2 separate regions of the Homo sapiens genome follow, and region 2 is linked to region 1. The links are contacts of gene promoters, found by promoter capture Hi-C in blood cells and fetal thymus (Javierre and others, 2016). All regions are on one chromosome and are shown on one strand. The core of a region is centred on a gene start or on the middle of the fragment in contact, and the rest is flanking DNA. Distances in the headings are between cores, read along the strand shown.

The links. The method cuts DNA at HindIII sites, captures the fragments that hold promoters and counts their contacts. A CHiCAGO score of 5 or more calls a contact.
Region 2: a contact is called between a fragment that was not itself captured here and the fragment with the promoter of ACSL4 in region 1, in 1 of 17 cell types (naive CD8 T cells). The highest score is 5.9, in naive CD8 T cells.

The regions. Positions count from the first base shown.
Region 1 is chrX:109,731,198-109,738,483 of GRCh38, forward strand. It overlaps ACSL4 (acyl-CoA synthetase long chain family member 4), which reads right to left and starts at 2,060. Exons shown (of 16, transcript NM_001318510.2): 1 at 1,942-2,060. It overlaps LOC105373311 (a long non-coding RNA gene), which reads left to right and starts at 1,314. Exons shown (of 1, transcript NR_158569.1): 1 at 1,314-3,761. RefSeq lists enhancers at 1,423-1,472, 1,533-1,672 and silencers at 1,795-1,915, 2,013-2,322. The HindIII fragment of the contact is 5,191 bases long and covers 418-5,608 here.
Region 2 is chrX:112,830,798-112,837,922 of GRCh38, forward strand. AMOT (angiomotin) reads right to left here. Exons shown (of 14, transcript NM_001113490.2): 2 at 1,497-1,573. Among named protein-coding and RNA genes, the nearest start is that of AMOT, 6.5 kb to the right of the region's middle. The HindIII fragment of the contact is 1,668 bases long and covers 1,222-2,889 here.

The DNA.
Region 1 (7,286 bases), core at 810-3,309:
AGGATTTATAACAGCCTTAACGCAAATTGCATTATATGTGTGTGTGTATACCTATATATACACGTGTGTATATATATATTTGTCATATATATTCATTATAAGAATATATCATTCAAATTGGGGGACTTGTGGATCATTTCAACAACCATAAAGACACTTATTTTACAGATGCAAAAACTAAGAGAGGTGAAGTGACTTGTTCAAGGTTAAATATATATCTAGAGTTGGGTCTAGAACCTGAGCCTCTCCAGAGTTCCAATTCATTTCTCTTGTCTGAATTGAACAAGACTCTTCTTTCTTCACCCATCTCACCCCTACCAAAAATACTGAAAGAAATATCTTAATCTAAATCACTTGTGTTTTTAAATAGGGGGTTTTCCAAAAAAAAAAAAAAACCCACAAAATTGAATTTACTCAAGCTTTCAATTGCTGTATTACACCTTCCATGGATTTTTAGTTGTCAAATTATTTCTTATAGCAGGACAATAAGGTACTTTATTCTAAGGTACAAGTATACTAACAGTTTAATGTTTCATCCCCCACCTAAATGGCAGAGAGTGTTAATTCTAACAGGAGTCTTACATGTCTTACACTTTAGCAGTTTCAATCAAAAGATGAGCTATTTTACAATTTAAGGAAGAGGCCTTACACTGTTAAAATCTTGACCGATATGCTCAATGGCAGTACCATCATTGAATCTCCACCTGCTGCCTTACGTATCAAGAACATTTAAAAGTCTTTCTTGTTAGAGACAAAATAAAAGAAAAACTAAGGTGACAAGCGACTATGAGAAATAAGGCTTTAATCAGGTTAAATTTGCATTATGCAGCCTGCATGAATTTAGAGGTCCTAGAATCAAAACACTAGAAGGAACCTTTGATATGCTCTAGTTCAACAGACTGATTTTTGCAGAAGAGGAAACTGAAGCGCTGATGAGACCATTAACTGATAAAGCAAACCGCTTACTTTTTCAAAGGGATTCATTTCAATGCCATTTTACCCTTATTTTGCATCTCACTGTTGTTTCTCAGAGCGACGATTGACCTTTTTTTAGGTGAAAAGAGCGAATAGAGCGTATTAATTTCAAGAGGGTGAAAAATGCCTTTGAAGGAGGAGATGCTGGAGTGAAGAGGAGAAATGACGTCTTATTTAAAATATGTAACCCCTTGATGGGGTTAGACAATGAATCATATTCTCCTAGATTTTTCTATGTCTATAGACATCAGCCACAGTTCTTTCAGGCACTCAAACGAGAGGAAGAGGAAGTGAATAAAGCTCATACTAAATATATAGCACCCACTGAAGGCAGGGATGTAGACAGAAAGAACGGGGGTGGGGGAAGGAAGGAAAGCACGCTTCGCCAGGATCCAGCTGTTTTCTAACAAACCTAAGCCTACGGAAGCTAGGAAGATATCGGAAGCAAGGAAGATATCGGAAGCGACGGCATCCCTCAAATTCGAGAGGGCGGATGCCTCTAGGGCTAGAGAGGCTCCCTAGCCCTCAGTTACAGAGCGACTGGGAGGGGACAAAATGGAGTTGAGGTTTAGGGGCACCCTAAAGGTCGTTTGGAGGTCTAGCAAGCACTTCATGGTCTCCTCCGGAAAGGGCCGTGGCAAAGCCTAGTACCCCGATCAGGAAGATGACTTCTGGCCCTCGGGATGCGGTGAGCGGCAGGAAGAGGCAGGCTGGGGTTCCGAGGACCCCAGAGTCCATCACAGGAGCAGATACAGTGACCTCGGGAATCTTCCCGGCCCCAGCGGAGGCGAGCGGATAGATAGCCCTGGCTCAAGGAAAAAAGCGAGCCGACTCCAGGAGCTGGAATGCCCACCCAACCTCCTCCCGGCTCAGGTGAGGTACGCCAGTCCCCCTCTGGAAATGGGGCCCTGGTACCGACAGGGCAGGGGTGCCGGGGCCGCAACCTCCCCATCCAGGGATACTCACCGGAGGGGCGGCCCACCGCGTCTTCGCAGCCGGCCGGCGCCTGGCACTCGGAAAGCTCGCAAAAAGGAACCGCGTGCCCGCTAGCGCTGGGACGAGGAGGAGCGCGCGGCGGAGGCCAGAGAAAAAGCCGCAGCGGCGCGCGCGCACCCGGACAGCCGGCGGAGGCGGGACTCAGCGCGAGCCCGGAAAAGACGCGCCCGGAGGGGCGGGCGGAGCGGGGGCGCGCGGTGGTGTGGCAGAGCCAGCCGAATCGCTGGCTGCAGACGGCTCGGCCCACCCACGCGCCCGCCCCCGCTCGCCCGGGACGTCAGTCGAAAAGGCGGAGCCGAACGGGCTTCCCGGGGCGCGGGAGGGGCGCTGCGAGGAAGGCGAGGCGGCTAACGGCTCGCCTCAAGTTGTTGCTCCCGCTGGCGATCCGCTTCTGTCAGTCTCGCTGCTGGTGTCGTTGAGTGTGTTTCGGGATGTCCTTGCGCCTAACAGCAGTGAGGCGCAGAATTGGCCCACGCCCTCACCTGCGGCTTGCTTCGCAGGACTCCACCCCAGGATAAAAGTTCCCCTCGGGTCATCTTCCAGCTGCCCTCAAAAGACACTCATTTTTGGGTTTCACTGCTCCTCTTTAAGAGAGCTATCTTGAACACTTTGACTAAAAGCATCTTGCTCCTGTAAGCCTGAACTAATGCCTCTCATCCGTTTATCTTGCCTCTTACTGCGTTAAGATCCCCGCTCACTCCCACTGATGAAATATCACAAGGACGCAGGATTTTCACGTTGTCTTTCATTTCCACGATGGTATCATGGCAAAAAAACCCCCAACTGATAAGGAAAAGTCACCGCAGCTTTGTGACATCTTACTAGCCCTGATCATTGCTTATAAGCCGGTCATACGAATGCTGTTCCAACAGATGCAAGAAATTGCTATTAAAATTAAAATGCCAGCGAACTATCTGAGGGCTTCAAAAGGGACAGACCATAATTGCAAATGAGGCCTGATAAACTGCCAAGAATATATCACCCAAAAAAATAAATCTCAAGAATTCTTCCAGTTCCCTGATGCGTAATGGTGAACTAGCTTCCTGTTCCTGATGGTAATTGACATTTCACTTCACTTGCTGATTTCCATTTTCCCATAGAATTACCATTTGTGCTTGTGTGTGTGTATATATATATGTATATATAAAATGCCTTACCACCTGAGATTACAAGCTAGAGTAGTTCTTCAGTGTGCATCACAATTATCTGGGGTGCTTGTTGAAATGTAGGTACCTGGAGCTACAACCCCCAGGTATTTTGATTCTGATCTGGGTAGGGATAAGAAATTTGAATTTTTAATAAGCAGCCCAGGTGACACTAAAAGTGGTTAGCTGAGAGCACAGAGCTATAGTTTTTGTGTTACTACTCTAAAGCCATATTACCAATTCAATTTCCAAGAAACCCACCCACTTACATATAATATACCTATAAATATTGCTAAGACAGTCATGTAGCTTCCTTTTTCAAGATTGACCTACAAAGTTCAGTACTTCAAACAACGAGTTTAATTGTCATGTTTATTTTATGAAATCTTGTTTTAATACCAGAAATAAGCAATCATATGTCAGGTACGTAATTCACTGGGTAACTATGATGTACAGAGCACTATCACCTACAGTTGGGTTAACACAAATGAAATTGAAGAAATGAATATCGCTGTTCTCAATAAAGTTAGTGTCTAGTTGTGGAATTAAAATATAGATATAATACAAACCCAGTGTAGCACATAAATCAGTGTGCTGGATGAAGATGAAAAAGAACTTGTAATTAAAGAGTACTTTTGCCAGTTTCCTTTATTGTCGGTCTCTTAGCCCAGACATTTTCAATTAGGTAATTTCCTCTGAACAGAGTCTTCAGCTTACTGAAGTTCCTCCAGCTCTACAAGATATAAAGGAAAGAAATCACTATAGCCTGAAACTATCCGTTTTTTGGTATACAAATGTGTGTATGATATACATATAGATATGTTTATCAGACCAAGAAACTACTTGGATTTTCAAGATCTCTTATTACTTAAGCTATTCATTAGTGTGTACAGTTCTGGCTGTCTTCATCACCTACCACATCTCACCTTCTTCCACATTTAACTGCACCCAAGTTGAAGAGGAAAGAAGAACTATACCTCCAAAAAGGAAACCAAGTATAACCACGCTATTTCCAGCTTTCCTTTTTCGGAGTCAAAACAAACCTTGCTTAATTTCTTGTCATCAGAAACCTTCCAGAAATTACTGCCCAGGAGCAAAATATTTCCCAAGCAGCTGTCTGACATTTTAAAGAGAACATTTGCAACGTTGTTTATTAGTTAGGAAGATAGGGTATTATTATCCCTATTTCACAGATGAAGAAATAGATGCAGGTTAAGTGTCTTGTCCAGTCACACAACTAAGTAGTAACAGAGCCTGAATTTCCTACTACACTGCTTATGACTCCTAGACCAGGGTGCTTGCCGCTACATTAAGCTGCCTCTGTAATGAGTCCTACCCAGAACTACCAACCCAATTAGAAATGGAGTAGATAAACGTATGGAAATGGAAGAGTTAGGAAAATGTACAATGCAATTGACAGATTCAAAATGCAATGTAATAAGTACTAAAAGCATGAGAATTAGTCTGTTAGAAGCTAAACAGAATTTAAAGGACAGCTCTGTTAACAGGCACTGATATTTAGGCCTTGCCTATTTTATTATTCTGTAACAAGAAGCTGAAACAGATAGCCAGGCTGCTCTTGGCATTAGTTATTTATGGAAGGGCAGAAAACAACTGTTCTTCATTGACTGTGTAACAAGCCTTTGCGTGTTAAACTTCACGGGTTTGTAGAATAATAATAATTTTCTCCTGTGGTCTAAATACAAGCAGCAGGGCTTCATAATAATATTTGCATTGACAAGTTGTGTTAGATTTTGTCATTAACAAACCTTATTTTTTGCAGACCCAACAACCAGGCCAAATATTGTCTTTAGTGGCTTGTGTTAAACAACCGGTGAAATCAGAAACCTACGTAGATGATCATCTCACTGTGAACATAAATAATAACCTAAGCCACTCCTTTCAAAAATGATCAAAGGCATAGTAGCTACATCTAAATGTTATTTTTGAGAAATGATTTGTTTTTTCAAAATAACTATTTCTTTTCATTCTGGCACATTTTTCAGGTTTTTAAATTAATGGAAACACCAAAACAAATAGACATCTAGTGCACCCAGATAGGAAGACACAGTATTGCATGGAGTCAAGTTTTTCCAAATTAATCCGTCAAGACAGTGTGGTCCACATCAAAATCACAGCAGGATTTTAATGGAACTTAATTTCGGTTTCTCTCATGAAACTCATTTGTCCTTTTTAAAGATAACTACAACACCCTCTAAATAAAATCCTCCACAGTTATCCTTGAAATTGTTTGTGTGACCTTCCCATAAAGAATCAAAAATAACAAAATATTTTTATTATCCATAAGGCCATGAGTATGTGAAAAATCTATTGTGGTTGTCATTGAATCTGTAAGAAAGTTGCCTTTGGTATATTTTTGCCCACTCTCTGTAGTGATTCTAGCCTAGTAATATTACAAAAAAAGATAGGTCATCAATTTCATAACTTGCCTTAAATCTCTTTTTATTATGCTTTCCCTTTAACATACAAAAAGCTTCCAATATGTCCTATTCTTAAAAGACCAGTAAAATAACAAAATTTTAAAATGTCCCTTACTCAAAATCTTCGACTATTAGTGCTGGGAAGCCACTTAGATGCAGAGTAGCACGATGGAAACCATATGGGTTTGGACTTAAGCCAACCACCCTAGACCAAGTTATATAACATTTTCCTGAGCCTCAGCCTCTTCTGTAAATTGGGGATAATAATGGTACCTCATTCATAAGACTCTTCTGAGGGAGGATTAAATGAAATCATGCCTATAAAATTCCTGATTTATGGCAAGTGTGTATAAAATGATGGCTATTAATCACCAAGTTCAACCTCTTCATTTCACAGATGAGAAAAAGGAAGCTAGAACCAGAACAATCTTTCTCCAGATTCTCCTATTCAGTAACTTTCTTTACAACTAAGGACAAATTCCTTGAGAAGTGGTCTACAGCCACTTCATTCACTAAGTCACTATCTGACCTCCAAGTTAATCTCCATTCCCATCAATCCTACAAATATTCCTGTTGCTAATGCCGTCTATGAAATAGACAAACCCCATAATTATGCTTAAATAATTATGGGACTATTTCACTCTGAAACTGAGTGAATAGTCCCCACTGGGACTATTGGACTGATTAAACCTTTGGATATTTATTCAAAGCATCCCTCTTCAAACCAAAATTCTGTAATAAAACTGTCTGCTTCACTTGGACCCTACATGGCACCTGATACAAGCCAAATTACTGTTATTCAAATAAAACATTTTTAACAATATGTTTGAATGAATAATTATTACTTTTAGAAATAGATATAAAAGATTATTAAATATTTTTAATTTTTCTTTTCAAGTTGGTAAGATCTTTAGATTGATAATATTCAATTTTGGCAAGAATATGAAGAAACTTGCACTCATATATTCTAAGTAGGAGCGTAAATTGGTTTGGCCCCTTTATTTTATTTTATTTGTTTATTTTTGAGACAGAGTCTTGCACTGTTGCCCAGGCTGGAGTGCAGTGGCACGACCTCAGCTCACTGCAACCTCTGCCTCCCGGGTTCAAGAGATTCTCATGCCTCAGCCTCCTGAGTAGCTGGGATTACAGGTGCCCGCCCCCATGCCCAGCTAACTTTTGTATTTTTAGTAGAGATGGGGTTTCACCACGTTGGGCAGGCTGGTCTTGAACTCAGAACTCAGGTGATCCACCTGCCTCGGCCTCCCAAAGTGCTGAGATTACAGGCGTGAACCACTGCACCCAGTCTGGCCTTTTTAAAAGACAATTTGGCAGTATCTTTTAAATTTTAAAATGCATATACTCTTTGACATTTTCATGTACAGGGCTCTACTATACAGAGAAACTTGAACAAATACACAAAGATCTATGCACAGGAATAGTAACCAGAGTATTATTTTAATAGTGAAAAATTAATCAAAAATCCCAAGTGTTCATTAATAGGAATGCGGTTAATACCTTATGGCATATCCATACTATGGAATACTGTGTTAGGTTAAAAAAAAAAAAAAGAATGAGGCACAATTATTTAAATATCTATATGCAAACATAATGACATGAAATGATGTTTGTGATATATTATTAAGCAAATAAGAGCAATTTGCAGTTCGATACACATAATTCATTCTCATTTTGAAAAAATATAAGTATATGTCACAGTATGTGTGTGCAG
Region 2 (7,125 bases), core at 806-3,305, 3.1 Mb after region 1:
AGGTTCATGGCCTGTAATAGCTTATATCATCTTTCATTTTTGCCCTTGGAAAGATCTGACAGTCAGCTTGAAGACATTCAGTTCTTGTGACCCAACCTGCTTACATTCTGAGAATTGAATTTGTCAGTTTTTAGATCCCAATCTTCAATATATCTTAAGGGACATTTTGCTGTATAGAACTAAGCAGGCATGATCAATGAGCCTGTGTGTGTAGCTCTATTTTCAGCCTCAGTTAAGGTGGCACATTTAAGGTCAGCCCTGTTTAATACTAGATGACTAAGTGACACCTGTCTTAAATGGTCAATGTATTATAGACAGAGGTTGATTTGCAGACCTGACCATAAAAATCATCCGGTCCTAAAGCAGGGGAGGCAATAGGTCAGAGATGCCCCTGGTTTAACAACAGTGGACACAACAGGCATTCCTTCCGTGACTTCTTAGCCAGAACTCTCAAAATAAGGCAGTTCTGCTGTCCATCTTCTCTTTGAAGATTTTTCCCTAATCCCTCTCCATCTATTCCTGACCTCAACTCTGCTCAACATGGAAAATGAATTCTCTATGATGACACTTATCACAGCAAATTTTCCATAAACTTTTACTGAGCACTTACTGTAGCCAGACATTGTGCTAGGTAAGGCCTAGGGTGGCAATAAATAAATAAATAAATAAATAAATAAATAAATAAATAAATAAAAAGAGAGCCCAGTACTTGAGGAGCTCCCAGTCAGGCAGAGGAGGCCCAATTCAACGGGAAAACAGAGGTATGAGCTAATAGCTCCGGCAACACATAGGGCTCTGCAAAAAACCCTGGGCTACCTGAAAAAGCTCCCAAGAGGAGGAAAATATCAAAAACCTATAAGCTGAGTAGAAGACATGGAGTGTGATGACCAATTTGACATCAAAGATAGGTTGAGATATATCTTTGGGAGTCATTAGCATATGGATGACAGCTAAGGTCATAAGAGAGGGCTGGACCATATTGACTAGGAACAGAACAGAACCCAGGATGAAACTAAACATGGACTTCTGGGGAAAAAAAAAAAAAGATCATTCAAGGGTTAGGTACTTTGCAAATGTGGGAGGGAAAGAAATTCCTTTATTTATCCCGATGGCCTTTCCTCCCATATATCTCCAAGCTAGACCTTGCAATACACAGCTCCAGGGACAGAAATCCCCAGCTGTAGTGTGGAGAGAAAAAAAGAAGTTAACTCTCACCTTTTAAGCTTCTGAGTGCCCTGGTAGCAATCACTATTACGGGTTGAGCCAGAAATGGAAAGGGAAGTTGCTAGACTGTAAGATCTTAGAGGGCATGGGCGGGGTGCGTGATTTTTCATTGTATGCATCCCAATACCTAAAACATTAACTGGTACATAAAATGTGCTTAATAGTTGCATACTGAGTGAATGATAACTTCCCCAAAACTTTGCTAGAGGCCACAGCAGGAGAAGAAAACAAAGAAAGACATGGAATAACAATAATAATAATGTTATTATTACCTTTAGTTTCTCAGCCTTCCTTCTAAGGAGACAAAAGCTCTTTCACTCTGCTATCTTATTTGTCCTTCTTAGCAGCTCTGTGGGGAAATAAAGGCAGATGTGATTAATTCCATTTTAGAACTGGAGAGGGAAGCTCAAGTCCAGAACAGATAGCTAATCATAACTAATTGGACCAGAATTTCACTGTTGCCCATTGGTAGGGCCAGCATTGGAACCCAGGTCTTGCGACTTCCTGCCCTGTGCTTGGTTCTAAGACATAACCCTCCACAGAATTGCCCCTCCAGTTTTTAAGAGGACAGTTCACAAGAGAAATTCATTAGGAAAGCAAACTCCTGAAACACTCTAACAGTATCTTGAGCAAGTGAGTGAGCTGCATCTAAAAGAAAGTAATCTGTTTCCCCACGCCAACACTGGGATGACTAAACCCAGTTCCCAGTGGGGCTCTACTAACATAATTGAGAGCTCCCTGTTTCGCTGTGCCCCTTTTCAAGGGAGCCCCATCTGCCTTCAGTCTGGTTTTTGTGTCTGAGTGGGGCTCAGGTGCTGACTGCAGGTGTGGCATCCAGCAGGTGTATGGACAGGAGCCAGCATTTCATATCTTCATACCAAAGGGCCTGAGTCACTCTCTGAAGGCAGAAGGCAGCCCCTCCTCCTCCTGCTGTTGCCTTGCAAGCACAGGGAACCTGCCTTGCCTGAGGTGCCACTGCAGAACTGAATCTAAACCCTGCCTTCCCAAGAAGGACTAAGGTGAGATTAAACCACAAATCATATAACCCAGCTAACTTTCTTATTTGCACAAACTACTGCAGGCATACACCTACACCGTGGGCACAGCATATGGGAACCTAGGTACAGAATGACCGTCACCTAAAGTGATGCGGGGAAAGGAGGGCCACAACTGGCCCATATTTTACATTTGGCTATAAAGCATTGACTCTACTGCAAATGGCCCTAAAATCTCAGAAGCAAGTACTCACCCCCCTAAAAAAAGGTGGAGTACAGTAAAAAGAACCTGCTAGAAATCTTGCACTCCTGTTCTCACCATAACCTCTTTCCTTCAGGCTTCCAAGGGAGAACCACTTAGCCTGGTCACAGAAAGCACCAGGTCAGAAAATTCATCATGTTCCCCTAACCAAAGCCCAACTGGTCCCAGCCTGAGGCAGACAGAATGTTCCTGGGAGTAAAGGGGGGGGGGGGGTCATCAAAATTTTCTTAGCTTCAAAAACTGTTTGCTTTTTAAAAAAACAATCTGCCTCCCCTACTCTCTCTCTCAGGCACACACACATAGACCAAAGAGAAACTAATTGTAGAAGAAAAAAATGAAATCTTACCTTAATAAAATGGTTTGTTGTCATTTGTTCTATTTCCCTAATTCATACGGGAAATTCAAATAAGCTTTGGTTTATAGCCCATGATCCAGAAAGCAAAACTGGCTACCACACTAAAATGTGATCATTGTATATAAACATAGTAAAACAAAACTCTGAACTGAAAATCTAAATGTAATAAAGAGGAATTAGGTTTCTTCAAAACAGGCAATCTAAATAATTTTCCCCATCTGTGATTTTTATCTTAGTTTGCTATCACATGGAACAAATGTCACTAATTCAATGCAAATACATGCCCCTTGAAAACAACCAAAATGAGTAAGGGATGTACTAATTAGCTTCCTAATGGGGAAGGTTTTAATTGAGCTATTCTTTAACAATCTTCATCAAAGTTTCCAGGGCAACTTCATAAAAGGATGTCAAACCTGGCCCATATTTTTATTCCCTTAAAAATAATTTTCAATACACAGAAACACAGAAAGCTGATTTCTCTTCAATGCTGTTAACACTCAGGCCACTACATTTTCTGATGTCAGCAATCCCCTTCCCACAAATATTCCAAGTATGCACCACCGTCATTCTCCTTTCAATTATGTGGTTTCTCTGCTCCTTTACTGATTGAGTCCAGGCCTCTCGGATAATGAGAAGCATGTGCAGGGAAAATATGCTCTTAAAAAACACATACATCAGTTTTATCTGCATTATAAAGAGGAGAGCAGATCGTTTGTCCATATCAAAAAGATTGAAATGTGAAGTTTGCTATGGGGTATATATAAGGGGAAAAAAAGATCAGTATCAATGCCTAAGGTTGATAGGGGGGCGGCACAGTTATTGTGATCTGATGTGACACCAATAAGAAGAAGGGAGACTCTCCACCAAATCCACCCTTTCTAGCTTGGCCACATTTATATTTCATGTTATCTTAATGTTTCTTTTGGGGGTATTTAAGTTCTGACATACACATGGAAATGAGCCACGAATTGTACAGCAAGCATAAATATTCCATCATTAATAAAATCCAGCTGTGTATAAAACACTACAATGGCTGGGTTTCAGTTACTGGCTATCATCAGTATGTGTCACAAGCAAATATTACTGAAAACTTTCTCCCTTAAAACGTGCATGCGCACACACACAGAAGTTTGCTTTATTCTTTTTCATCTTTTGGAGGAGCTTTGAATAACTCACTGATCTCTATAGCCCTTTTCAACTAACGTTTCTTTTTGAAGCTATTTTTCACCACCCTGTAAGATGCTAGAGTCCTCTTATTTGTACCTCAACTTACCACACAGTACAAAACTGTTTAATTTTTTTTCCAAAAAGCCGAGAGGGCCAATAATACAAATGTTGGGTTAATGGTAATTACAGTCAGTAAGGCAATGGGGCACCAAAGGGCACTGTATGTTATAAGAGAGCAAAGCTCATTAAAAAGGAACACCTGCTCAAGACCCTATAATAAGCCTGCTCTGCCATCATGCAAACACCTTTCATCCAATGACCTCAAAGCATGTGCCCAATATGAAGCATGCCGAAACACCTCTGTGATTATTAATATCCTTGCTTCCCAGAAGGGTAACTGAAGCTTAGAGCAGCTAATTCATTTACCCTTGGTCACATGGTAAGACAGAGAGGGGCTGGGCAGAGAAAACCAGATCCTGGCTTCAAGTCACACAGGCTAATGATATTTCATGGAGTTAGGGCAAGAGTGAAAGTGCCTTTACAAATGTCAAGGCAAGCCCACAGACTTAAAAGAGTAGATTTTCAAGAATTGCCTTAGGAAACATTGGCAAATACACCCATTTGCATTTTCTCCAGGATCATATATTACAAAAAAAAAAAAGTTCCTGTTCCTCATTTGCTACTTTCTAAATACTAAAAACCCATACCACACTTTCTATTCCAGTTAGAGAAATTTAATCTAATTTATGATGAGCCACTGGTTTCCAGGAATGAATCCATCAAATCTTTTTTTTTTTTTTTTGAGACGGAGTTTTGCTCTTGTTGCCCAGGCTGGAGTGCAATGGCGTGATCTTGGCTTACTGCAACCTCCGCCTCCCAGGTTCAAGCAATTTATTCCTCAGTTTCCTGAGTAGCTGGGATTACAGGCATGCGCCACCATACCCAGGTAATTCTGTATTTTTAGTAGAGACAGGGGTTTCACCATGTTGGTCAGGCTGGTCTTGAACTCCTGACCTTAGGTGATCCGCCCGCCTCTGCCTCCCAAATCGCTGGGATTACAGGTGTGAGCTACCATGCCTGGCTAATCCATCAAATCTTAGAGATCACATGTATACCACACCTTTGTTATCAAAGGAAAATTAAAGAACTATGAAATTTGACTACATGGTGAAGACCTCAGATGAAGAACCCATTATGTGTGGGCCATTCTGCTGCTGCACTTCTTGTCTTTTATTTAACTGTCTAAAATCCTTAGTTTCTTTGCTATCTTTTAGTCTAATTTAAACATATTATTTTCCATGCTACAAAACAAGTATATTTGTGCTTTCCTGCTTCTCCTTTCTCATTCTGGAGATTTCATATTCCACTCAAATTTATACTCACTTGATGGGATTTCACCATACAGTGACTTAAAAATCATTGCCAATGATTTACACAAAGTAAACAGTGGACCCTAGTTTTGTTGTTGTTGTTGTTAACAAGAATGGGGGAGGGATAACAGGAGGTCAAAGGAATTAAATTAACAGCCTTGCTAGATACATGAACAACTCCTGAATCACAGAGAGTGTTTAGGGATTACTTATTATATCCATTAGCCTCTCCTGGCATTTGAGAAACAAAATATATGGGAGTCTTCATGTGTCCTCGGTCAGATTCTGACTTAGTTCCTCCACATGGGTTCACAAAGTTAAGTCTTGGGTGGGCTCTTATTGAAAAGCAACATTGTATATATCTGTGGCTCCAATTATCTAAAACTCATGTTAGTACAGGAACCAGGACTTGAAAGGAACTAGAAAAAATGAAAGCAGGTGATCTCTTAGGATGATGGAATTCTTGAAGTTTTGGACAGAGTCTTAGCTTCTTAATTTTGGGTTGTTAAAATGTAAAACATAATGCATCTATATTCATATATCCTTACAGGATCTTTTTTTCTTTAACATGATGACTAGATGATTGAATTTCTAACAACTGTTGCACTTCATTCTAGTAGCAATCATTCACATTCATACTAGATATTGAGGCCTAGAAAGAAAACCATAAACGTATAAGAACTGGCTCTCAAAATTACCCTGTCCAAACCCATAATTTACAGTGGAAAAAAAAAAACTTAACAGAGGTAGTAAACCGAGTTACAGTTGGGCCTAGAGCCCAGGTCCTTCTCACCAATAGGCTCACTAGGAAATCTTATTGCAGATTCTTAGGTTAAAGTGGCATCAGTCGCCATTATTTACTAGAAATAACTTTCTGGATCCCTGGGTTAGTCAAATACAGTAGCTGGAAATAAAACATTTTACCTATATGGGGTGGATAGTCTCATCCTTAGAATTGTTCAAAATCTATAAAGTCTGATTTATTTTCAAAAAGTAATACTAGCTTTCTTCTGCAAGCAGTTGTAGGCCAGAGCTAACGTGGCCAGCATTATTACAAGCCAGAATGATTTAGACAATTAACTAACTCCATTCCATATAACAAAAAGATTTCAAAGGCCAAATAATGGCCTCACTTAATTTAAGCGATAATCATTACAAATTCTTATGTATTCCTTTATGCAATAAATATGCTTCCGAGAAGGCCCAGTTAGAGTGAATTTTTATATATCAAGTCATAGTTTAAAGGCACTAACTAGGAAAGCTAGTACTTACAAAGAAAACCTGTTGTGGATTCTTTTATAAAGCAAATGACCTCCTATTTTCTTTCTTTCTTTTTCTTTTTCTTTTTTTTTGTTCAGATTGTGTGTGTTGTGTGTGGAAGGGGCGACTTCCCTCCTTTCTCTGGGTTAAAAGGGGTCAGAAGCCCACCATGGAGGAGAGTAATGCAGTATGGCCAGCCTGTTTAATACCCCCTTAGTTCCTGGGACAAAATTCTAACCTTTGACTTGGGGGTGGAACCCTAGAATTTGGACCAAAGTCCACAAAAGGCAGCAAGGAGGGAAAAGTAAGTAAGACTAAAGACAACACATCATAGTAAAACACCAACAAAAATTCCTGGGGACAGGAAATCAATGGATCACAATTCTAAACAAATTGGTTTAGTCCCCAGCTAATTAACTTGTCAAGCAGATCACTAAACCTACTGAATCCATGGGAGAAAGAGATGATGTAATAGGAGATTTGGAAACATTT